Regions from separate parts of the Homo sapiens genome. Here regions 1, 2, 4 and 5 are each linked to region 3. The links are contacts of gene promoters, found by promoter capture Hi-C in blood cells and fetal thymus (Javierre and others, 2016). All regions are on one chromosome and are shown on one strand. The core of a region is centred on a gene start or on the middle of the fragment in contact, and the rest is flanking DNA. Distances in the headings are between cores, read along the strand shown. Region 1 overlaps NCAPD3 (non-SMC condensin II complex subunit D3). Region 2 overlaps JAM3 (junctional adhesion molecule 3). Region 3 holds the start of IGSF9B (immunoglobulin superfamily member 9B). Region 4 overlaps NCAPD3 (non-SMC condensin II complex subunit D3). Region 5 overlaps NCAPD3 (non-SMC condensin II complex subunit D3).

Region 1 (4,834 bases), core at 2,238-4,737, 220 kb before region 3:
GTGGCGCAATCTCAGCTCACTGTAACCTCCGCCTCCCAGGTTCAAGCAATTCTCGTGCCTCAGCCTCCCGAGTAGCTGGGATTACAGGCACATGCTATCAGGCCCAGCTAATTTTTGTATTTTTAGTAGAGACAGGGTTTCACCATGTTGGCCAGGCTGGTCTCAAACTCCTGATCTCAAGTGATCGCCTGCTTCAGCCTCCCAAAGTGCTGGGATTACAGGCGTGGTAAGACTGAGGAAAGAGTGATCAGGAGGAATTAACGTTACAGACTATGAAACCACAAGCCTTCCAGGCTCAGTGGTACACAACTTACTACCGGCAGAGCTGGGACTAGAACTAAGGCCTCTGACTTTTTCCTAATTTTCTTTTCACCAGCACTGGTTGGAAAAAGAATCATGTGTACAGCGCGCAGTCAGGGCCTAGGAAGTCATCTGCCGCTTGCTGCTGGCCCAGGGCCATTAGGACGGTGGTTACATTGTCATGAGAGCCTATGAGGAAGGCAAGAACTGTCTTCAGGTTAGACACTGAGAGCTGGAAGCGGGTGGGGCTTACTACTGCATTAGCAAAGACCGCCACGGTTTTAATCTGCCGACACAACCTCACTTGGTGGTTGACAGAGGAGCAAGGCCCTGAGATTGTCTGGAATGTTAGGATATTTTCAATCCATGTGACCCGCTTGTTTCCCCTAAACACGCTTCTCCTTTTCTTTTCTCTGTAAGTGAATATCATTTATTTTACTGAGAGCAACAGATTACCCAAAGATATAGCTCAGCAGCAGTATATATGAAAGGACTGTGGTCTTTGGGCATTTTTGTTATCTGTTTTGTGACTGTCATTAAAAAATTGATGAGATCTTGTATCAGTAGAAATAGTGTCTAGAACAAGAGGAGCAGTGATCCTGTGTGCTGGCTGATAGTTCAGTATCAGTGACAAATTTACAGAGAAGTGTTGATGAAATTGAATATAACTAGAGGAGAGCAGTTAAATAAGGGTATCACAAAGCAAGTTATGTAAGGAACTGCAGAAGGGCCTGGAGTCTTTAGCATGGAGAAGGGAAGGGTTGGGGACGGTAGGCTGCCTAGCTAAATTCAAATTTATGAAGGACTTTCAGATAAAAGAATTGGATTTATTTGGTATTCCCAGACAACCTATCTGGACCAATGAATGGAAATTATAAATTTTGGTGAACTGCAGAGAAAACTTACTGAGGTCTGCCCAAAATGGTGGGCTTGCCCCAGAGCATGTCCCCTGTTATTGGAGGTATTCAGGAGAAGCTGGACAAGGACTTGGAACAGGCTGCCATGTGGAGAGAATGCCAGGATTGGGTGGCCTTGTCAGCTTTCCCAGATTCTGTGATACCGAAACTTACTAGTCCTAGTACCCAGGTTCTGGCCTCATTGGGATCAAGCATAAGAATTGCAGAAACTCTTTGGGCCAATGTTGTGGTCCAGGTTGTGCAATCTATTAAAATTTTAAATGTAATAGTTCTTTTAGAAGTAATAAAGCCAATAGTTTCCAGATACGTTAGGGCAAGTCAGACTAAAAGCATTGCTCATAGTGGTGGCTTGCCAGGCACTGGATGATGGTTAACACAGGTCCCTTCCTAAGGCACTACAGAGGAGTGGGGGAGGTGCGTGCACATCAGCAGATAATTTCAACATAATGTCATCATTCCTAAAATAAAAGTCGGCATCGGGTAACATGGAAGCAAGGGGGTGGAGGCCCTTAGCTCAACCTAGGTGTTTTGGAATGGTTTCCTACAGAAAATGAGGTCCAAGAATTCTAGAATGTGGTTGGGAGCTCTCTCTCTTCCTTGGCATAGAGGAACAGTCCAATGTGCACTAGAAGTCACCCCTTGAAGTTATTGTAATCAGTGAGAGACACGGAACACTTGTCCCTAATGCATAAATTTCAGAAGAGTAGCAACTCTATTTTATGTCTTTAAAAAATGTTTATCACAGTAGTTAATTCATCATCTGTATATGGCAGCAAAACTACAGCTTATTTCTGTATTTTTGGAGGAGCACTACTATTATAGATCTCTTACAAATTACTACATGGGGTCATTGTAAATATTTGGCCTTTTGCTCTTATAGGGCAAATGTAAAAAGAAAGATGATATATACACCGTTCTTTATAAATTCCACTTAGCCAGTACTCATGGCTAGATTGCTTAAATGCATGTCATTGTGGTTTTGGACAAATTGTGGGAAAGAGGAAAGCTAGGAAGCACCCCTACAGCCTATCCATTTGAAGATCATAGTTTCTTCTGAGAACATGGTGTTTCATGGGTAGTCTGGGAGATGTGCGGGGCCCTTCAGAGATGACTTTTGACTTGCCGTAGGAATTGCTGACGCAGGTGTGTGGGGATGTACTCTCCACCTGCGAGCACCGCCTCTCCAACATCGTTCTCAAGGAGAATGGAACAGGGAATATGGACGAAGACCTGTTGGTAAGCGACTGCTTTTCCTAACCATTCTTTTCGCTTCCATTTTATCCGTGAGGTTCTATTAAAGATGACTTTGTCATGTACGCTTTAAATGCTTTTAACAAAAGAGCTGTCTTAGCCTAGAGCTTACTTTCTCTTTTTAGAAGATATTTTTAAATTGATAACCTATTCATTTTTTTCTTATATACTTTTTATCGGTGGGGAAACTCAATGGTATACGCTTCATCTAGTTCAGTCTTATGAGAAGCCTGATTTCAGTAGGGAAAACACAGTATGTGTTGTAAGGTTGGTATAGTCAAGCTTAGAAATGTAAGGTAAGAAATAATAATGTGAGTATAGTGTTTTTGGTTTGTGTGTTTGCTTTTTTAAAAATTTAACATGTCTTCTGAGCTATTTGAACATCAGACAGTAGAACTGGGGAACAGTGCTGAGCAATTGCCAAGTAATGACTGAAATAAAATGAGAGATTTGACAATTCAGAACACAGATGACCTTGGAGCCCCAAGATTGTTTTCTGTGGCACCCCTGCTTTAGAAACTGTAAACGGTGCAAGAAATTCCCGTGAGCCAGGACGGGACAGTGGGCTGATTTCAGTGGCTGACTGGGGATAAGATGTATGGCAGTAATTCTGGTTCCAACATCTGACTTTGTCCAGTAAAGGAAATAATGAGCTGCTTTTTGATGCCATTCAGCACAGATCATTATTTAACCAAAACGGGCCATTTTTCTCATATGTTTAAATTAGTGGAGCACGTCTTTTCTGTGTTCAGTTTCTGCTTGTTGGCCTAGCTCTCCTAACGCCCAGTGATCACCGACCAAGCTTAGATTTGTTCAAAGAGAAGACCATTGAGCCTGAGGCACTACTGTGCACGTGATCAGGAATACAGAGCCTCACTATGGGAACCTGGGTGCTTTAGGTAAGAGCACCAGGGAGTGTAGCACAGGCTTGGCCCAGGGCTTCTAGAGGGTCTTGCTCTTCTCATTTCTGCCCACATTAAGAAAGATGCTTACTATGGTCAGTGAGTCTTGTCCCCACCCCTCCTCCCCCAGGTTTTTTTCAACTGTTAACCGTGTCATCAAAATCTACTCTTCAGTCAAAATATATATGGAGAGGTTTTGCCCTATATACATAGTTTCATTCTTGCTTCTTTAAATAGAACTTAAATATTTTTTTAATGAAGAGATACAGTATTTCAAGATTCTTTTAAACTCATATACTTTGTTATTGGCTTTCTTACCCTAGAATAAGCTTTTATTTGACATTTTACTATTCAGCATCATCCCTTCATTTGGGGTGTAAATAAAAAAAGAACAATATTACTTAGTTGTTAAACTGAATGTTATGAAGAAACACAGCATGGCAGCTGTGAGTAGGTTTTTGATGGGGTCTACATAGAAAAATAATCTGGAGGGCAACTTGAAAATGTGTTTCAAAATGTGAAATAGCTTTATATACTCTTTACCTTGGATTTTACTTCTGAGGAAAGAGAGCAGTATCTAAGGATACACAGGTGTTCACCAGAGCTAATCGAAACATTAGCAAAGGGAAACAGCATCAGTGTTCATTGATACTGGAATAGTGCAGTAAGTTATGACGACAGTCCTAGTTTTGAAATGGCATATACTTATGTAGTCATTAAACATATGTGTCATACATATTGACATGAAACGATGCCTAATATTCAAAGTAATCATTGCAGACTTCAAAATACTATACTTGGTAAGTGTATAAGAAAAGTAAACATAAAGCCACGTGACTATAGAAATACTTTGAAAAAGTTATACACAAAAACAATAATGGTGTCTCTGGGTGGTAGGGTTATAGGTAGATGTATCCCAGTTTACCCAAGATAACCCTAGCGTACACCTATTTTCACAAAATAATTATTAATAGCACCCCCTTTTACTTGCAGATGTGTCTAGATTTAGATGATAAAATTATATGCTTGCCCTAATTTTGGATGAGTTTCATTACATAGTGACTAAGTTTTTACAATAGCCATGTATTTTTATGAAACGAAAACTAGTAACATTGTTTTAAATTTGGGGGATAAAGGAAATACTCCATTGACATGTCCTTAATCTAGCTAGAGTTCACTTTTCTTTTGCCTTATTTTTACTGTAAAACCAATTATCTTTGTAGGTGAAGTACATTTTTACCTTAGGGGATATAGCCCAGCTGTGTCCAGCCAGGGTGGAGAAGCGCATCTTCCTTCTGATTCAGTCCGTCCTGGCTTCGTCTGCTGATGCTGACCACTGTAAGGCATTTGAAATCATACTCTGTAGCACGCATGCCGTTTCAAGGTTCTGTCGGTAACTTTCTCTCCCTTCTTTGCAGCACCATCATCTCAAGGCAGCAGTGAGGCCCCAGCGTCTCAGCCACC
Region 2 (4,802 bases), core at 2,179-4,678, 140 kb before region 3:
TAAGGTGGCTGAGATAATTAAATAGGTTACTATAATTTTTACAGACAGGGTCTCACTTTGTCACCCAGGCTGGATTGCAGTGGCATGATCACAACTCCCTGTAGCCTCAAACTCCTGTGCTCAAGCAATTCTCCCACCTCAGACTCTTGGGAATACAGATGTGTACCCCACACCTAATTTTTAAATTTTTTGTAAAAATGCGGTCTTGCTATCTTGCCCAAGCTAGTCTCAAACTCCTGACCTCAGGCAATCCTCTCACCTCAGCCCCCCAAAATACTAGGATTACAGGCATGAGCTTATAAATGAGTTATCACACATAAAGGACTTATAAATTCCTGGCACATAGCTAGCACTCGATAAAAACTGGAGGAAAAAGAATAAATAAGGGGAGAAATATGATCAGATTTGTTTTTAAGATGATAAAAGGCAATACTTGTGGTAGTAGAGTATTATACCAAAAGAACACTATCATTACAAAGGCACAAAGGTTACTCTATTTTCTAGTGGACACTTTTTGGTATTAGAGCAATAGTATTATCAACAGGAATGCCTTAGCTAAACTCACAATAGAAACTTAAGCCTGGAGACATGCTTAGATTCCAGATACCCTGACTCACAGCTCTGTGTTCTCTCCACTAGGATGGAAAGAACACTCCACCTCAGTTCTCATCTCACTTCTTTGCTACCACTCTTTGAATAAATATTCTGGTCTTCTGCATTTCAAATGACTCTACTTATAGTTAAATAGCTGTCCTCCTTGAAAAGATTCAGTGTTTCCCAGAGCACAGCAATTATTATAGAACTGGGTTAAAACCCACATTTAAATTCAAACTTCAATGACAGTACCATTCTATAAATGTTAACACATTAATTTGCCATTACAATTAAGCAATATGTATGAAGTTCATAACTCAAGTATCACTGTTAAACTGCTCCTGGTTGTTTCTGTTTGAAGATGGGTAAGAACAGAGAAGAAATGTTCACAGTGCTTACACTGTTACCCCATGCTGGCTGTTTAGAATGGGGCAATATCTTCCTGAGTTACAAGGAGCACCAGGCACAGCAACATGTATCCTGGCTGACCACTTATACCGAGAATGGTTTATTGAAAGAAGACATAAACATCACTGTGATTTCAGGAAATTAACTTTAGTTAACTTTACTTCATTCACTTTTTTACTCAAAAAATATTTACTTTAAAACTAAGTGTTTGTCTAGTAAGGAAGCAGTATAATATAGTGGTTAAGAGCTGAAACTCTAGAACATCTGAGTTTGAAGTCTATCTCTACTGCTTATCAAGTGTTTCTGGCTTGGATGTTCACCAATCTTTCTGTTTTCTCATCCATACGATGGGGATAATTATAATACCTTTCTCCTCCAGTTGTAAGAGTAAGAGAGCATACGTAAAGTGCTGAGTACAGGACCTGACGCAGAGAATGCATTCACATGGTATCAGCCACTATTAGAGAACTGCTTTCTAGGTGCTGAGATTTCAGTGGTGTACAGACCCAAGGATGCCCTCAAGGAGCTCACTAGCAGTTGGGAAACAGGACTCAGATATATAAATACAGTGGTAACTCAAAAGTGGTCTTAAAGAGAAGGAGAGTCTAATTAGGGATTTTAAAAATCTGCTATAACCCATTCAATTTTTAGCTCCCCAAGGGATTTTCCTCACCATCTGGGCCATCAATGCAAGCGAGTTTGAAAAGCCCTCATAATTTTCCTATATCACACCTCCTCCTCAGCAAGAAAGGCTCTGTGGGTGGAAAGCAGCAAAGAACACTGTATGTTATGCAGAAAGCAATCGTTCCTCAGAAGACACAGGGCTCTGCAGAGCAGATGAGCCACAGAAACTTGTTTGGATCAGAAAAATGGGATCATTTCACTGAAGACCTAGAGATAGGAACTGACCACTATTTTTTTTTTAAGGAGGAAAGGGGGATTCACCTCAAAGTACTTTTCTAATCAGAAACAGAATTTGAGAAGAATTTAACATCTTAATTAAAGATATAATGTCACTCTCCCATGTCATGAGATTTAACTTTCATCAAAGGAGAGGTCTAACATTAAAGTCAGAAGTGACTTAAAAAATAGCACACATTGACTTAAAAGTATATTTTGGGTGACATTATTGGAAAATCTCCACTGAGCAAAGCAGAAAATGATGAGGTTAGAAAAATAAAGGAAGCAAGCCGGGCGCGGTGGCTCACGCCTGTAATCCCAGCACTTTGGGAGGCCAAGGCAGGCGGATGACGAGGTCTGGAGTTCGAGACCAGCCTGACCAACATGGTGAAACCCCGTCTCTACTAAAAATTCAAAAATTAGCCAGGCGTGGTGGCGCACACCTGTAATCCCAGCTACTCAGGAGGCTGAGGCAGAAGAATTGCTTGAGACCAAGAGGTGGAGGTTGCAGTGACCCAAGATCGCACCATTGCACTCCAGCCTGGGCGGGTGACAGAGCGAGATTCTGTCCCTAAATAAATAAACAAATAAATAGAAAAATACAGGAGGCAAAGGGCAGAAATCTTGAAAGAAACATAAAAATCAAGTACAGCACAACTTGCCTTACAAATGCAGTACAGTTAATTACAGATGACAAATACTGTCTTATCCTCAATACCACCATCAGAGAGAGGGCGAGACAGTGAGAAAAGGATCTAAATGGGTCCCTCAAATCCCCTTCTAAGTAGTGAGGAGTAGGAGAGAAAAAGAAAATGAAGCAAATAGAAACAGATTTCACCCAACTTGTTGGGACAACTCTGAAATCTGTTCCTGGGCCTGCCTTTCCCAGGCCAAGAGCTGCTTGCCCAGGCTTTTCCCTGAAACCTTCATTTTACAATTACCTCATTCCTCCCCCATGCAACCTGGTAGTATTATTTTTATTTTTATTTTTTGAAATAGGGTCTCACCCTGTCACTGAGGCTGGAGTACAGTGGCATGATCACAGCTCACTGCAGCCTCGAAACCCCAGGCTCAGGTAATCCTCCCACTTCAGCCTCCCAAGCATACAAGGACTACAGGCATGCACCACCACACATGGCTAATTTTTGTATTTTTTGCAGAGATGGGATTTCATCATATTTCCCAGGCTGGTCTTGAACTCCTGGGCTCAAGCAATCTGCCCACCTTGGCCTCCCAAGGTGCTGGGACTACAGGTGGTGAGCCACCACGCCTCTCCCTAGTTGCATTTAAATGAAGGCTTTCTGGAGACTGGTGTAACCCAAAGGTCTTTCTCTAGGCTGGAGTATCAGTGTGAATGTTAGTGGGAAACATGCTAGCTGAAGGAGTGCTTACTGAGCTATCCCTCACAAGTATCAGCAGGTGGAGCTCCACCTGCAAGCTAGCTCTGAAATCACCCTTAGGAAGTGCAGTATACCTCAAAATCAGGCCCAGAAAAAGAAGATACAATGCTGCTATTTGTCTAATTCATGAGTTCAGTGTACTTTGACAATGTCCTTGTTATGATGCAACAAGGATTTCTCTCTGCCATTTTAGCTAAGGCGAACATATAAGGAAGACAACTGACCCAACTACAGAGAATGAGTATCTATACTTGCCCCGACACTAATGGTTCTGACTTTAGATACATACTATTTCTACCTGGCACAGGTAGAAATAGTCTTGCTGTCCTTCACAATTGATTAAAACTAATTTTGCAAATCCCAAATTATCTCACGTGAACTTTCTAATGAGGTACATTTGGTTTTGATTATTGTGCTTTTTCCAAGAACTAGCTTTTTTTAAATTAAAAGACCTCTTTCAAAACAGAAGATTTCAGTTAATTTGGCATTGCTCTTAGTTTTCCTCTCTGAAGTTGAACTTTTGTGTCCACTCCTTCCCTAAAAAGCAGTCCATTTGTAAACTAAGTTTTCTGGATATAGGTGAGCTATATACATATGCATGCACAGTAAAAGGAATGGCTAGCTCTTCTTCCCCTGGAGAGCAGAGCTTGGGTGACACTTTAGCACGATGCCCTGGGTATACACTCAATCAATACTGACTAGGCCCAGGAGATGGATCTGATCCACATTTTTAGGGGAACTAAGCAGAAAAGGAGATGTTTCCTGCGTGCTTCATAAAGTATATAGGTTTTTCACTGACTGAAAATGATTAGAATATAGTCCTCACAATTTTATAAGCACTAAATTTTCAAGAACTGAAGGGCCAGAGTCCTTAATGTCATAAACTCAATATCTTACAGTGCAAAGTGTGTGTATATAAATATATATATACATATATATAAAAGAAAATTAAGAATAGACTTTAAATTTAAAAATCTGAAGATCACTCTTTTAAACTACTTTCCATGATCTGTAGAATTTATAAAGTGGCAACTTGTAATATAAAAATAAATCAAGAAAACATTATCCTGAAGTAAACATTATTTGGTCAGAAATACAGCAATTGTTAGTTTAAATGAAACATAATTTTAAATTGTTTTTAATGCTTTGCAACTTGAATTTTCCATTCCCTATAATGCCTCCCTTCTCCATTAGTAGAAAAAAACCGAGAGCTGACTACACAACCAGAAGTCAGCCTGCTCCTCAAACCCAGTATCAATAAGATGTGAGAAGAAATGTCCCTGCCAAAGACATTAAGTTGCATCACTAATGCTCCAAAGAGGTTCATCAAATGATTCCAGAGGTACTTGCGAATTTCACCGAATCTCAAATGAAGGAGTCAATACAACCTGTTCCTGAGCAAGTGCTGTAGAAGAGTGGCCAGCTGGGATTAATCTGTAGGCAAGGCGCCCTGAAATGCAGAACAGCAACCACAGACACTAAACACTGTTTCCAAAATTT
Region 3 (4,976 bases), core at 1,515-4,014:
CTGCATTTATTAGTGACATCGATGACATTCAGGTACACCTAGGAGCTGCGCAGGGAAGTGGCTCATGTTCCTCCCTCATGTCCCTTTTGGACATCTGGGGTCCATGCTCCCCTTGAACACTCAACTGGATGTGTCTATTCTAGGAAGGGGCAACCATCCTTTCTGGGTCCAAAGCTCAGCCATACGCCAAGAGGAAAAGATTTGATCAGACTCACTCCTCACTGTAAGCTGATACAGTATATCTCTCTTTAGCTGATCTGAAACCCAGTTGAGACATGTCTAATGATGATGATGATGACGAACTTTTCCCTTTGTATCTTAATTTTCTTCCCCTTCCTCTCTGCCTTCATCCCTTGTTCCACTCTGTTTCCAGTAGAATTATCCAGAAGAAATTTGTTCTCCTCTTTAGATAGATCCTTCGAACCCCTTCCCAACCCAACTCATGTTCTAAAGCTTGTTACGTGTTTTTTTCTTTCCAATTTGACAGACACTTTTGTTGTTGTTTTTGTTTGTTTTTTAACAGGGTCTCATTCTGTCACCCAGGCTGGAGTGCAGTGGCATGATCACTGAGCCTAGAACTCCTGTGCTCAGGCAATACTCCTGCTTCAGCCTCCTGAGGAGCTGAGACTACTGGCATGAGCCTCCATGCCCGCCATCCATTCTGACAGACAGTTCTACTTTCCTAGCAGGAGGCAGAACCCTGAGTAGGACAAATGGATGGCCAGACAAAGCAATCAAGATGGGTGGTGAGAGTGGCTCCATCTTTTTCCTTGCCCTGCAGGCCCCTAGGAGAGGGTTTCTCTGAGACCTGATGTTTCCCACTCCATACCTAACAATGGTGAGGAACTAGGGCCAGGCTTTGTGGATCCGGCACTTTTCTCTAGGCCACAGTTAGCTGCTTAGAGGTTGTGGGAGGAGAAGGATCCTGTTATGACCAATTCTGCAAATGGATTCCAATATGTCTTTACAGTCCCGGGGCCCTGGGAAAGTGTGTAAGTGTGTGTGTATGTATATGTGTGTGTGTGTGTTGGGGGTGGAGTTATTCTGGGTCATGCCACCTGGAAATCACTGCATCAATGAGACCTGGAGATCACTGCATCAATGAGACCTGGAGCAGCTCACTTCATTGTCCCCAGAAAGGCATCTTTGCCCAAGAAGAGAACCAAAATCATGGCTCAGGGAGAGATGGCCCCAAGTTATGCATCTTGAGTGTGTTTGCACAGGTGGAGGGGTGGGTAGGGTAGAAGGTTATTCAACAGTCCTGGTTCTCTGGATCTATCCAGGCCCTCGACCTTTATCCATGTGCTCACTGACTGCTCTGTTGGGGGCCTCTTTCTGCCTCCCAGCTGGCGGTGAGCTAAGAGGCTTCCGGTGTCAGGGAATGCTCCACCTCCGGTGTTCAAGGCCACTTTTTGTGCATGTGTGTGTACCTGTGTGCACGCTTTCCCAGAAGCAAGTCTCCTTCTTGTTGTTTTGGGAGCTTCATGTCCTGGAGCCAGGGCTTTGTGGCTAACGAGTGCTTTGAGAGGATGAAATTCCTGAGCTCTCGCTCGCTGACCCTCTGCCTTCCTTCCTTGGCCAACAGCCCATCCCAGGGAGCGGTGTGATTCTTACCACTGCCTTCACTCCTTGAAAGAACAAACATCTTCACTGCAGCCTCTGAGCGCTGGTGTGAGGTGATTGTTTGTAGTAGATGTTTCCATGACACTCATTTATTTCTTCTGCAAATACAACTGTATTGGGGGAGGGGAAGCAGACAGGCTAGGGTAGGGAGACTGGAACATACGAAGACCTTCCAGTTTCCTATTTACATTCCTCTGTAGGATGAGAAGCTCCTTCCCTTTCCCTGGGTCTCCTCCATCCCAGACTCCTAAAGCTTCCCCCAAACCCATCTTGGTTTCATGCGGCCGAGTCGGGGCTGGGCTCCGAGTAAGGTGGAGAGGGGAGGAACCATGTGCGTGAGGAAGCAGCCTTTATCAGGAGAAGTGGGAAAAAGACCCAACTTTGACTGCTTGGAGTCGGGATTCAGTAATGATGAGCAGCAGTGACCAGCACTGGGGGTGGAGTGTGTGTGCACGAGTGTTCCTGAGGGGTCTGTGGCACTTCGCAGCTGAGCCAATGACTCACTCTAAATCTTAGCGACTTTGAGAGGTCATTTTAGTCATCCCCCGGTCTGCATCACGTTTGGAGGGGGTGGTGCGCTGCTCTGGGGACGTGTCTGGGTGCGGAGGGAGACGGGGTGGGGAGGCGGCGCGTGACCTCTTTGAAAAGATCTCCGGCGAAGGACGTTCCCCGGCTCTCCCGGGCCGCCGGCTCCTGGGTTTCCCCATCATAGAATCAGCATGGTCCTCTCGGGAACTGCTTTTTGCCGGATGGAAACCGGATGTTGGGTTCCATGAGTGGGCGGGGGCTCCACTTCCCTCAGACCTGTCCGGGGTAATTGAGACCCGCCAGGGTCCCGTTAGAAGCTACCATTTCCCTCACCAGAAACTTGCCACGCAGTGTGAGCCGAGAGAGAAGCGGGCAGAGACGCTATACCACCTTCTCCCCGGCAATGCGCATGATTCTGCGGCTCTGTGCTCGCCACACTTCAACGCACCTTGAAATGGGCTCGCCTCCTTCGCGCCGCGACGGGCGGAAGGCTGAGCCAATCGGACCCCCGGCTTGCGGGCGGCGCCCAATAGGCGGGCGGCGGGGGCGGTTCCGGAGGCCCGGCCCGGCTAGGCTTCACCGTGGACCTGGCTGCGCTCCGCCCGGGCGAGTAGTGCAGGTGCCGCTGCGCCGGGGCCGGGGAGGCGCGCGCCGAGCCGAGCGGAGCCTAGGAGGGATGGAGAGCTGGCCACCCGGGCTGCAGGAGCACCGGCGCGGGGCGTAGGCGGCGCGAGGCGGGCGCGAGGCGGGCGCTCGGGCGCGAGGCGCGTGCGGGCGCGGGAGCACTTTGCGATAGGATGAGGCTCCGGGCTGGCGCGGTAGTACTATGATTTGGTATGTGGCCACTTTCATAGCAAGTGTGATCGGCACCCGAGGGCTTGCGGCTGAAGGTGAGTTGAAGTGCGGCGTCCCTCCCCTGCCCCTCCCGGCGCCCTCGGCCCCTCGCGCCCGGCCCCTCGGTTTCCCGGCTCCTTGGCCCCCCGGTTCCCCAGCTCCCCGGCGCGCCTTCCCGCGGGTGAGGCTTGGGCTCCGACGCGGGCCAGGCGGCCCGGGAGCATTGCCGGGGAGGGCCTGGGGGCCGTGGGCTGGAGGGGCGGGCGGGAAGGGGCCAGAGCCCACGGGCTGCCGGGCACTCGGGGAAAGGACGCAGTGGAACCTGGGTCGACTTCGCCCACCACGGGCCCCACGGTGCACACCGGCGCGCCTAGCCCGTCGCCTCCTGCCCGGCGGCCGCCTCCCAGAGCTGCGGGAAACTCTGGCTGCGGGAGTTTGCGGTCTCCGGGCAGGCTGCAGCACGCTAGAGCCCCGCGCCGCGAGGAGCGCCTGCAGGGAGGCGCGACCCGGAGGATCCCTGGGACTGGCGGCACCCGCGTCTAAGGCCCCGGGTTCGCGCGGCCCTGCGGGCGTCCATCGCTCCGCTCGCGCCCCTCCTGCCCACACATCTTGGCAGCTGGAGGTCGGATCCCCCTAGCAGGGGCGCCCGGTGAGAGGAGGATTGATGAGGCCAGCTTCGAGGTGTGTCCGCTTTTGGCTGGACCCCGCCGGCCCCCGCGCCTCTCAGCCGCACCTGGGCCCCGGCCAGGCAAAAGTTCCCCGGGAGCGCGCCGCAGCCGCGCGGGCCCCACGCCGCCCTCCCCAGGCTGCGAGGCAGAGCTGGCTGGGGGCGGCGGCGGGGGAGGGGAGGGGCGGGGAAGGGGGGGTCCCCACGCTGTGAATCCGAGCGGAGGGGGGATTTTCTCTTTCCGCTTTCCTGGGTCTGAGCTGGGGGAGACGCAAGGGGGGAGCCACCGAGTTGGGTGATGCGTGCGTGAGCGCGCGGGCTTTTGCTTTGGAGATGGGCAGAGCGACCTACAAGCCTCTGGGTGGCACCCCCGGCTCTCGGCCCTTGTATGGAAGTGGGAGCGGAGCCTGGAGGGTGCCAGGACTGTGAGCTCAGGGCTGTCAGCGCGCAGACACGACCCGGCTGCGGGCAAGTTCACCAAGCCGGAGGAGATGGCGGCGGGAGAGAACCCGCTGTGGGTGGGAGTCAGCAGGCAGGACTCGCCGACAGAGAACCCTCTCCCAGCGGCATGGGGCGCCGGGTGGGCTGGAGGCGCCTCTCACGGGGTCCCCTCGTCACTCGTCTGTGCAGGGGGGCGTGCTTCAGGAAACTTTCCGGAATGGAATGAATATGTCGCCTCTGCTTCTGAGGGGGGTGGTGGTGTCTGAAAACAGAACGAGCAGAGGGCGAAGCGAAGGGTGATTTTGTTAACTGACATGTTGGTCCGGACGGTTTTAAAACTCTTCATTTGTCAGGTGGGAACACTGAGGCAAGGGTGATGGCGGAAGCTTACGGAACGGGGGGTGGATGTGAGGTGCATCGGGCTGCGCTTGACAGTCTGCCTGTAGCCTCATCCTCTCCCCCATTTCCTTGCCGTCTTCCAATGCCCGCATCCTCCTCCCCTCCCGTTTTTGGTATGTTCCTGCTATGGGACTGTCCCTGAAAGCACAAAAGGATGAGCTGGGATCTTTGAATAGAAAAGAGACGCTGAAGGAAGGCTCTGAAATAGCCTCCGAACCTAAGTCAGGGTGGGCAATGGACTTCTTTGCAAGTTTCAGCCCAGAATAAAGGAATGTGAGTTTATACTGCAGCAACACGCAGAATCGCAAGATAGAAGGAAGGGCTTCCCAAAATTGAAGGCTGCCTGGCATGAAGGTTATGCCCTCTTTCAGGGTGCAGAGGGGTCCTTCTGTCTGGAATGGCTGGACATGTACCCCTGTCTGGAAGCAGAGGGTGACCTTGCTGGTCTTGGGGTCTTTCTTAGCCTCAATTGCTCTGTGTGTGG
Region 4 (5,500 bases), core at 2,998-5,497, 240 kb before region 3:
CTAAACAGGTTACGGATTTACGGTGGCACAGACTTTTTCAAGCAATATCAAGTTGAGGTGATTTAATGATGCTTAAAAATTATGAAAGTTCGGGGACGCAAAGAGCCCATGTTTCCAGTGCATTGTTCATAAGCTGAAAGGACATATATTGTTGGCATTAATTGTACATTAAAAATTTTGTATAGTCACTTAGATGCACTTTGCTCTCTTTGCTTTTTCTTATTAAGGCAGAGTTCACACACCATAAAGTTCACCATGGAAAGTGTATAATGTAGTTGTTTTAGTATAGTCACAAGATTGTACAGACTAATTCCAGAACATTCCATCAGCTGAAAAATAAACCCCATAGCCATTAGCAGTCACTCCCCATGCCCCTTTCCTCCTAACACTGGCAACCAGTAATTTTCTTTCCTTATAAAATTGCCTATTCTGGGCCAGGCGTGGTGGCTCACACCGGTAATCCTGGCACATTGGGAGGCCGAGACGGGAGGAGGATCACGAGGTCAGGAGATCGAGACCATCCTGGCCAACATGGTGAAACCCCGTCTCTACTAAAATACAAAAAATTAGCTGGGCGTGGTGGCACACACCTGTAGTCCCAGCTATGAGGAGGCAGAGGCAGGAGAATCGCTTGAACCCAGGAGGTGGAGGTTGCAGTGAGCCGAGATTGCGCCACCGCACTCCAGCCTGTTGACAGAGCGAGACTCTGTCCAAAAAAAAAAAAAAAAAATTGCCTATTCTGGACATTCCGCATAAATGCAGTCATGTACTGTGTTGTCTTTTGTGTCTGACTTCTTTCACCTATAGCGTGTTTTCAAGGCTCATTCATGTTATAGCATCTATCAGTACTTCATTCCTTTTTGTGCTGAGTAATAGTCAGTTATAAGGATACACCACATTTTGTTTATGCATTCATCAGTTGATGAACATTTGGGTTGTTTTCACTTTTTGGCTATTGTGACTAATGCTGCTGTAAGTATTCTTGTATGAGTTTTTGTATAGATGTGTGGTTTCATTCCCTCTGAGTGTATACCTAGGAGGAGAACTGCTGGGTCGTATGGTAACTCTATATTCAACATTTTGAGGAACCACCACACTTTTTCAAAGTGGCCACACCATTTTACAATCCTGCTAGCAACGTATGATAATCCTATTTCTCTGCATTCCTACCAACACTTGCCATGTCTGTCTTTTTTATTTTAGCCATCTTTGTGGGTATGAGGTGGTATCTGCTTGTGGTTTTGATTTACATTTCCCTAATGGCTAATGATGTTGAGTAAATTTTCATAGGCTTATTGGCCATATACATACGTTTTCTTTGGAGAAATGTCTATTCAAGCTCTTTGCCCATTTTTTAATTGGGTTATCTTTTATTTTTGAGTTGAAAGAGTTATTTTTATATATATACCTTATCAGATATATGATTTTTAAAGACTTGTCCCAGTCTGTGGGTTGTCTTTTCAAATGGTATTCTATGAGGCACAAAACATTTTAATTTTGATGAAGTCCAATTTATCTTTTTCTTTTTTTACTCATGCTTTTGGTATCACATAGCTAAGAAATCGTTGTGTAATCCAAAGTCACAAAGATTTACTCCTGTGTTTTCTTCTAAGGGTTTTATAGTTTTAGCTCTCACATTTAGGTCTTTGATCAATTTTCAGTTAATTTTTGAATATGGTGTGATATAGGGGGTCCACCTTCACTCCTTTGCATGTGACTATCCAGTTGACATAGCACTGTTTCTTTCAGCCTGTTCCTTCACCTGTGAGTGTCTTGGCACCCTTGTAAAAAAATCACTTGACTGACTTGTATAAGCTCATGAGCTTATTTGTGTGCTCTATATTCTATATTAATGGAATTTTATTTCATTAATCTATATATCTGTCTTTATGTACCACATTGTGTTGATTGCCGTTGCGTTCTAGCGTAGGAGAGGGGAAATAATTTTTTCTTCAGTCCTCATGAGTTCTTCCTCGGGATGGATCCCCATAACAAGACAAACAAGTTTATTAACATGTCTAGTGCGTGTTATGCGGGAGAGATCTCAATGCAAAGTAACTGAGGGCTTAGAACTCCACTTACGTAACACAAAACACCATATCCAAAAAATGCTGGCAGTACAGTACACTGGAGACTCTCTGTTGTCCCCTTTTGATGGGGTGGCTGACGGGGAGCTACTCTTGCTGCCCAGCATCGTGAGAGTGTATCATTCTGCATGTCACTAGCTAGGAAGTGAGCAGAATTCAAAACTCAAAGTATGGTTTGAATGTGCATTGCTGTCACATTATTGCAAAATCAGAAAATCCTAAGTCAGGGACTGCCTGTATGTGGGAGGAAAACAATGGAGTGAGTTTTGTGAATTGCTCTGGGCTGATAAGGGTCCAGAGACCCCGTGTGTAAAGGAGAATTTATATACTGCCCATATAAATAAAGAAAAGGGAAAGGATAGACAGAGCTTTTTCTCTGTTTGCTGCTGCTTGTTAATTGTCTGCTTTAACTGTCTTCCCAGAAATAATTTTTATGTCAGAGTCATATTTTGGTGTTAACATAGTATCCTGTGATAGTCAATTTTAAATCAGGAAGTATGAGTTCTCCTCCTGTCCCTTTGTTCTTTTTTAAAATTAGTTTGGCTATTCTGGGTCCCTTGTATTTCCATATGAATTTTAAGATTAATTGCCAATTTCTGCAAGAAAAAAAAAGCCATCTTGGATTTTGATAGGGATTGATCTGTACATCAGTTTGGGGAGTGTTGCCATGTTCGTTTGTTAATTCCTCTAATCCATGAACACCAGATGTCTTTTTATTTCTTTCGGTCTTTAATTTGTATCAGTGATGTTTTGTAGTTTTCAGTGAACCATTGTTGCTCTTTAAATTTTGTCCTGAGTGTTTTTATTCTTTTCAATAGTATTGCAAATTAAATTGCTCTCTTAATTTCATTTCTGAATTGTTCATTGCTAGTTTTTACAAATTATTTTTGATAATTGATCTTCTGTCCTGCAACCTTGCCAAACTCATTACGAGCTCTAATGATTGTTTTGTGGATTCCTTAGGATTTTCTTGATATAAGAACAAGTCATCTGTAAATAGAGGTAGTTCTACTTCTTCCTCTCCAATCTGGATATCTTTCATTTCTTTTTCTTACCTATTTGTTGACAGAAAGAGTCAAGCTCTGTAAAATATTTGAAGACATTTATTCTGAGCCAAATGTGAGTGACCATGGCCCGTGACACAGCCCTCAGGAGGTCCTGAGAACATGTGCCCAAGGTGGTTGGGTGCAGCTTGGTTTTATACACTTTAGGGAGGCATCAGACATCAATCAGATACGTTTAATAGATACATTGGTTTGGTCCCAAAAGGCAGGGACAAGGTGGGGAGGGTTCCAGCTTATAGGTAGATTTTAAATTTTTCTTGTTGAAAATTGGCTGAGTTTGTCTAAAGAACTGGGTTCAATAGGAAGGAATGTCTGGGTTAAGATAAAGGGTGGTGGAGACTAAAGTTCATTACTGCAGAGGAAGCCTTCAGATAGTAGGCTTCAGAGAGAATAGATTGTAAACGTTTCTTATCAGACTTAAAGACTGTGTTGATGTTAATGCTGGAGGGTATAATGAGGCATGTCTGACCCCCACATCCCGTCATGGTCTGAACCAGTCTTCAGGTTAAATTTTAGAGTGCCCTGGCTGAGGAGGAAGTCCATTCAGATGGTTGGAGAGCCTTAGAATTTTATTTTTGGTTTACAGTCTGTGGAATGATGTTGAAAAGAAGTCAAAGAGTAGACTTCTTTGTCTTTTTTCTTTACTTAGGGGGAAAGCTTTTGGTCTTCACCGCTGAGTACGACGTTAGCTGTGAGGTTTTTAGTATGACTTTCATCAATATGAGGAAGTTTCCTTCCATTTCAAGCTTGCTGAGTTTTTATCATGGAAAGGTGTTGGAATTTGCAAATGCTTTCTCTGCATCTATTTTGAGATGATTGTGTGGTTTTCTTTGTTCTGTTACCATGCTGTAATTTACATTGATTGATTTTTCACAGGTTGACATTTCATTCCTGGGATAAATCCCAAGCATGGTTGTATCTTGCTGGATTTGGTTTGCTGGTATTTTGTTGAGAATTTTGGTGTCATATTCATAAGGAATATTGGTCTGTTGTATTAAGCCATTCTTGCATTGCTATAAAGAAATACGTGGCCAGGCGTGGTGGCTCATGCTTGTAATCCCAGCACTTTGGGAGGCCAAGGCGGATGGATTACTTGAGGTCAGGAGTTCGAGACCAGTCTGGCCAACATGGTGAAACCCCATCTCTACCAAAAATACAAAAATTAGCTGGGCATGGTGGCAGGTGCCTGTAATCTCAGCTACTTAGGAGGCTGAGGCAGGAGAATCACTTGAACCTGGGAGGTAGAGGTTGCAGTGAGCCAATATCATGCGACTGCACTCCATCCTGGGCAGCAGAGTGAGACTCTGTCTCAAAAAAAAAAAAAAAAAAAAAGATGTGAGACTGGGTAATTTATCAGAAAAGAGATTTAATTGGTTCATGGTTCTGCAGGCTGTACAGAAAGTATAGCACTGGCATCTGTTTCTGGGGAGGCTTTAGGAAGCTTAGAATCATAGCAGAAAGCCAAAAGGGAACAGGCGTTTCACATGGTGGGAGCAGGAGAAAGAGTCAGGGGGAAGGTGCCACACACTTTTAAATGACCAGATCTCACAAGAACTCACTCAGTATTGCTGTCCTGAAGACAGCACCAAGCTGCGAGGGATCTGCCACAGTGATCCAAACACCCCTACCAGGCCCCGCCTCCAGCACTGGGTGTTACAGTTCAACATGAGGTTTGGGTGGGGACAAATACTCAAACTATATCCGTTGTTTTCTTGAGATGTTTTGGTTTTGCTATCAGGGTAGTACTCACCTAAGATGAGCTGGAAAGTGTATTCTTTTCTATTTTTTGAAAGAGTTCATGAAGGATTGTTGTTCATTTTTGCTTTAACATTTGTTAGAATTCTCCACTAAGTGTCTGGTCCTTAGGAAGGGGTGTGTGTGTATGTGTGTGTGTAAAGTATTTTTGATTACTAATTTAGTTTCTTTTTCTTTCTTTTCTTTTCTTTTTTTTTTTTTTTTTGAGATGGAGTTTCGCTGTTGTTGTCCAGGCTGGAGTGCAATGGCACAGTCTTGGCTCACTGCAACCTCTGCCTCCCAGCTCAAGCAAATCTCCTGCCTCAGCCTCCTGAGTATCTGGGACTACAAGCACCCGCCCCCACACCCGGCAAATTTTTTTGTATTTTTTGTAGAGATAGGGTTTCACCATGTTGGTCAGGCTGGTCTTGAACTCCTGACCTCAGGTGATCCACCCACCTCGGCCTCCCAAAGAGCTGGCATTACAGGCGTGAGCCACCGCGCCTGGCCACTAATTTAGTTTCTTTACTCGTTACAGGTATATTCAGATTTTCTATTTCTGTTTGAGTCAGTTTCTGTAGTTTGTGTCTTTCTAAAACTTGTCGTTCTAAAAAT
Region 5 (5,034 bases), core at 1,515-4,014, 210 kb before region 3:
CTCCCCCAAGCTCATCTCACTAGTGAGTGTGCCCCTCCCCCAAGCTCATCTCACAAGTGAGTGTGCTGCTCCCCCAAGCTCATCTCACTAGTGAGTGTGCCTCTCCAAGCTCATCTCACTAGTGAGTGTGCAGCTCCCCTAAGCTCATCTCACGAGTGTGCGCCTCCCCCAAGCTCATCTCACAAGTGAGTGTGCTGCTCTCCCTAAGCTCATCTCACTGTGCCCCTCCCCCAAGCTCATCTCACAAGTGAGTGTGCTGCTCCCCCAAGCTCATCTCACTAGTGAGTGTGCCCCTCCCCCAAGCTCATCTCACTAGTGAGTGTGCCCCTCCCCCAAGCTCATCTCACAAGTGAGTGTGCTGCTCCCCCAAGCTCATCTCACTAGTGAGTGTGCGCCTCCCCCAAGCTCATCTCACAAGTGAGTGTGCTGCTCTCCCTAAGCTCATCTCACTGAGTGTGCCCCTCCCCCAAGCTCATCTCACAAGTGAGTGTGCTGCTCCCCCAAGCTCATCTCACTAGTGAGTGTGCCCCTCCCCCAAGCTCATCTCACTAGTGAGTGTGCAGCTCCCCTAAGCTCATCTCACGAGTGTGCGCCTCCCCCAAGCTCATCTCACAAGTGAGTGTGCATCTCCCCTAAGCTCCTCTCACGAGTGTGTACCTCCCCCAAGCTCATCTCACAAGTGAGTGTGCAGCTCCCCTAAGCTCATCTCACGAGTGTGCGCCTCCCCCAAGCTCATCTCACAAATGAGTATGCTGCTCCCCTGAGCTCATCTCACGAGTGTGGGCCTCCCCTAAGCTCATCTCACGAGTGTGCGCCTCCCCCAAGCTCATCTCACTAGTGTGCCCCTCCCCCAAGCTCATCTCACAAGTGAGTGTGCTGCTCCCCTAAGCTCATCTCACAAGTGAGTGTGCTGCTCCCGTAAGCTCATCTCACAAGTGTGCCACTCCCCCAAGCTCATCTCATGAGTGTGCCACTCCCCTAAGCTCATCTCACGAGTGTGCTTCTTCCCCTAAGCTCATCTCAGAAGTGTGCCCCTTCCCCGAAGCTTATCTCACGAGTGCGCCCTTCCCAAGCTCATGAGTGTGCCCCTCCACTTAAGCTCATGTCACAAGTGAGTGTGCAGCTTCCCTAAGTTCATCTCACAAGCGAGTGTGCAGCTCCCCCTCAGCTTATCTCACAAGTGAGCGTGCTGCTCCCCTAAGCTCATCTCACAAGTGTGCCGCTCCCCCAAGCTCATCTCACAAGTGTGCAGCTCCTCCTCAGCTCATCTCACAAGTGAGTGTGCTGCTCCCCTAAGCTCATCTCACAAGTGAGTGTGCAGCTCCCGCAAGCTCATTTCACAAGTGAGTGTGCCGCTCCCCCTCAGCTAATCTAAGTGTGTGCAGCTCCTCTAAGCTCATCTCACAAGTGGGTGTGCAGCTTCCCTAAGTTTGTGTCACAAGTGAGCATGCCACTCCCCTAAGCTTATGTCACAAGTGAGTGTGCCCCTCCCCCTAAGCTCATCTCACAAGTGAGTGTGCAGCTCCCCCTAAGCTCATGTCACAAGTGAGTATGTAGCTCCCTCAAGCTCATGTCACACGTGAGTGTTCAGCTCCCCTAAGGTCATTTCATGAGTGTGAAGTTCCCCTAAGTTCATTTCACGAGTGTGCAGCTCCCCCAAGCTCATGTCACAAGTGAGTGTGAAGCTCCCTAAACTCATGTCGCAAGTGAGTGTACAGCTCCCCTAAGCTTATTTTACAAGTGAGTGTGCAGCTCCCCCAAGCTCATGTCACAAGTGATTATGCGGCTCCCTCAAGCTCATGTCACAAGTGAGTGTGCAGCTCCCCTAAGCTCATGTCACAAGTGAGTGTGCAGCTCCCCTAAGCTCATTTCACAAGTGAGTGTCCCACTCTTCTCACCATCTACTGGCTTCCGTGTTCTCCCTGGAATCCTGGTGCCATGCTCTGGTGCTGACTTCTTTCTTACTGATGGCTTTAACTCTTGCCAGATGGTGACAATTCTCAAACCTGTTTCCCACTCCAGCATTTCTCATGAGCCTGAGCTCAGGTCCCCCTGCTGCCAGGACGTGCTCCGGGTGTCTCTGACTTACTCTGTCAAAACTCCCTCAGTCATCTCTTCTTTCTGCTCTTCATCTCCTCTTTCTCCCACAGTTTATGGTGCTCTTGCAGACTGGAGTCTGGTGTGTCAGGCTGAGGCTTTTGTTGGCAGGAAGTGTAGAATTTGGATCTGAATGACTGGGGCAGAGCTTGGCTGCCACAGGCCTCTGCAGGCCTGTGTTTTCCTCCTAGCCTGGATTGCCAATGTGTATTTCCCACCTGGCCTCTGGAGGCTTTTGACTCCAAGGATATAGACTCTGATCATATCTTGCCACAAGATCCTGCCTGTTTTCTCTTACCAATCTATCTCTCTAGTTCTGACCTTATTTAAGCTTATCCCATTTCCATGGTTTCCTTACCACCCTTTCTGTTTCTGGTTTCTTTCTGTCACAGGCCATGTACCACCTTGCTGCCAGAGCAGTCTTTCTTTCTTTTTCTTTTTTTTTTTTTTTTTTTTTGAGACAGAATCTCACTGCGTCGCCCAGGCTGGAGTGCAGTGGCGCGATCTCAGCTCACTGCAAGCTCCGCCTCCCAGGTTCACGCCATTCTCCTGCCTCAGCCTCCCGAGTAGCTGGGACTACAGGCCCCTGCCACTGTGCCTGGCTAACTTTTTTTTTTTTTTTTTTTTTGAGACACAGTATCACACTGTTGCCCAGGCTGGAGTGCAGTGGTACGATCTCTGCTCAGTGCAAGCTCTGCCCCCCTGGGTTCATGCCATTCTCCTGCCTCAGCCTCCCTAGTAGCTGGGACTACAGGCACCAGCCACCACGGCCGGCTAGTTTTTTTGTATTTTTAGTAGAGATGGGGTTTCACAGTGTTTGCCAGGATGGTCTCAATCTCCTGATCTCGTGATCTGCCCGCCTCGGCCTTCCAAAGTGCTGGGATTACAGGCATGAGCCACCACACCCAGCCCAGCAGTCTTTCTTAAGTACAAATTTGATCATTTTATTATATCTGAAACAGACTAAAGGCAGGTTGACTGTGAGGGGTGGCAGGAAGCTTTTGGGTGATAGATGGTGAGTGGTCTGTAGTGCTGGTTATTCCATATAGACTTTTGTCAAAGCTCATGGAAGTGTTTGTTTAAAATGGGTAAATTTATTACATATGTTATACTTCACTAGTGAAATCTTTAAAAACTATGCTGGTGGCTTCCTGTCATCTTCTGAATAAACCCTGATTCTTCTTTTTCAAGGTAAACAAGAACTTCTGGTGTGCCTTCCACCTTTCCCATACCTCCCTCCATCCTCACCTCTAACCTCTCCACTTCAAATTGCCATCTGCACCTCAGTTGCGAGCTGCCCCCTACTCGTGTGCTCTTGCCTCTGGGTCTAAAGTCTGCAGCGCCCTCACCCACCCATCCTCCCTTCTCCACACATCCTCAGGATCATCCATCAGATGGCCATGCACTCCTTAGGCATCCCATCTCCATACCTAAATTCCCTAACACCCTGCCACTTAACACCTCTTCCCTTGAGACACACACTTTCTAGAAGTGGCTGGAGGGCAGGGATGCTTAGCTTCATTTTGCATCCTCAGAGGGTTAGCTCTTTGCCTGGACAGAGAAGGTGCTTGATAATACTTGTCAAGTGAATGCATGGAAGCCACTTCTTAAGACTATTCCTGAACATAACATCTGCTCACATCTGGGTTTATTAAATTGCTTATTTCTCTACTTGTTGTCCTTCTGTTTCAGGAACTCTGATAAGACTTTTTAGAAATGAGTAGTTTACAAGGAAGAAACATACACTAGTGACTTTAAATGAGAAGGAAAAGAGTAGTTTCAGCTTCAGGAGGATAAATCTTGCATATGTGGGCTACTATAGTGCTTTTTTTTTAATTTAAAGAGATTCACTGGAGAATATTTGTGGTTAGTGATCATTCAAGGTAAAGTGTGAAGACTTGGTCAAATCAGGTACTATATATATAAATTCATAGTATTTTGTAGATGTGTACACAGAGAGAGAGACAGAGCTGGCTGTCTTCATGCTTAGCCATTTTTAGACCATTGTCCCTTCACCAGCAGGAATACGAAGTGTCCCTCTGGGTAGCCAGAACGAGCTGACTTCTGTTCCAAGGGGAGGGTGTTGAATTGAGGACTGAAGGTGGAGCAAGAGCCAAGGTCCCTCAGGGTCTTCTGTGGAGATTTGGGGCTTTTGTCAAAAGCTACTCAACATGTTTCTAATTCTTTTTCCCCATTTAGAATATATGAGTAGTATTTGTCCCCACCCTATCTTACAAAGCCTTCAGAGTGTTTTGAGGTAATGCTTACAAAGTCTCCCAGAGAAAAGCAGAGGTCCTCTACATCCAGTATCATAATGAAAAGCAAAAATAAACTTACATAGTGTGGTAGGGTGGCTCTACTCAAAGAACTAGATCAAGGAGAGGCCTGTCTTTCAGAAGTTCATACATCTAAAACATGTCTTTGTTTGTGTTACCAGGTTCAGAAGAGGAATTTCATAGAAAATATTATTCCAATTATCATCTCCCTGAAGACTGTGCTGGAGAAAAATAAGATCCCAGCTTTGCGGGAACTCATGCACTATCTCAGGGTAAGGGTGGAGCCTGTGCTTTTGTGGTTGTTGTCCTACCAGTTCATTACTTAGGATCTTCTGCCAGTTATGACAGTGCAGGCAATCCGTGAATGATTAGAACCCCAAATTCTGCAAACCCAACATTACCTTGGTAACTGCTGTGGAGCTAGGGGTTGGCTGTGGGTTCCACCAAAGCCGCTCTTTCCCTTGGATGTGCAGCCAGGGCCGTGAAGAGCCGGCCCACTGTGCCAAGCACGTCTTCCCTTAATGGAGTTCAAGTCCATCTGGAAAACTTTCCCAGCTGGGGTCAAGAACACAGTCATCTTCGTTCATGCTGCTTGGGGGTAAGGTGAAAGTGAGTCTTCGGGTTTGATTTCAGGGTGCTTACCTTTTGCACTGACTCAGAT

Evidence for each region. Contacts are between HindIII fragments. The CHiCAGO score rates a contact against its expected background, and 5 or more counts as called.
Region 1: a fragment that was not itself captured here is called in contact with the fragment with the promoter of IGSF9B in region 3 in 7 of 17 cell types (activated CD4 T cells, naive CD8 T cells, naive CD4 T cells and 4 more); the score reaches 14.1 in activated CD4 T cells.
Region 2: a contact is called between a fragment that was not itself captured here and the fragment with the promoter of IGSF9B in region 3, in 1 of 17 cell types (total CD4 T cells). The highest score is 6.6, in total CD4 T cells.
Region 4: a fragment that was not itself captured here is called in contact with the fragment with the promoter of IGSF9B in region 3 in 4 of 17 cell types (naive CD8 T cells, total CD4 T cells, activated CD4 T cells and 1 more); the score reaches 6.8 in naive CD8 T cells.
Region 5: a fragment that was not itself captured here is called in contact with the fragment with the promoter of IGSF9B in region 3 in 4 of 17 cell types (naive CD4 T cells, naive CD8 T cells, non-activated CD4 T cells and 1 more); the score reaches 6.2 in naive CD4 T cells.

What each region holds. Positions count from the first base shown.
Region 1 is chr11:134,178,696-134,183,529 of GRCh38, reverse strand. NCAPD3 (non-SMC condensin II complex subunit D3) reads left to right here. Exons shown (of 35, transcript NM_015261.3): 20 at 2,346-2,453; 21 at 4,594-4,708; 22 at 4,789-4,834. Among named protein-coding and RNA genes, the nearest start is that of SNORD153, 30 kb to the right of the region's middle. The HindIII fragment of the contact is 429 bases long and covers 3,273-3,701 here.
Region 2 is chr11:134,097,293-134,102,094 of GRCh38, reverse strand. The region is part of intron 1 of JAM3 (junctional adhesion molecule 3); the gene reads right to left. Among named protein-coding and RNA genes, the nearest start is that of JAM3, 31 kb to the right of the region's middle. The HindIII fragment of the contact is 8,110 bases long and covers 1-4,802 here.
Region 3 is chr11:133,954,756-133,959,731 of GRCh38, reverse strand. IGSF9B (immunoglobulin superfamily member 9B) reads left to right here and starts at 2,764. Exons shown (of 20, transcript NM_001277285.4): 1 at 2,764-3,041. The coding sequence starts at 2,978. RefSeq lists a silencer at 2,586-2,935. The HindIII fragment of the contact is 2,603 bases long and covers 1,879-4,481 here.
Region 4 is chr11:134,196,257-134,201,756 of GRCh38, reverse strand. All of the region lies in intron 13 of NCAPD3 (non-SMC condensin II complex subunit D3), which reads left to right. Among named protein-coding and RNA genes, the nearest start is that of NCAPD3, 25 kb to the left of the region's middle. RefSeq lists a silencer at 3,467-3,667. The HindIII fragment of the contact is 695 bases long and covers 3,900-4,594 here.
Region 5 is chr11:134,161,392-134,166,425 of GRCh38, reverse strand. NCAPD3 (non-SMC condensin II complex subunit D3) reads left to right here. Exons shown (of 35, transcript NM_015261.3): 28 at 4,535-4,645. Among named protein-coding and RNA genes, the nearest start is that of SNORD153, 13 kb to the right of the region's middle. The HindIII fragment of the contact is 667 bases long and covers 2,431-3,097 here.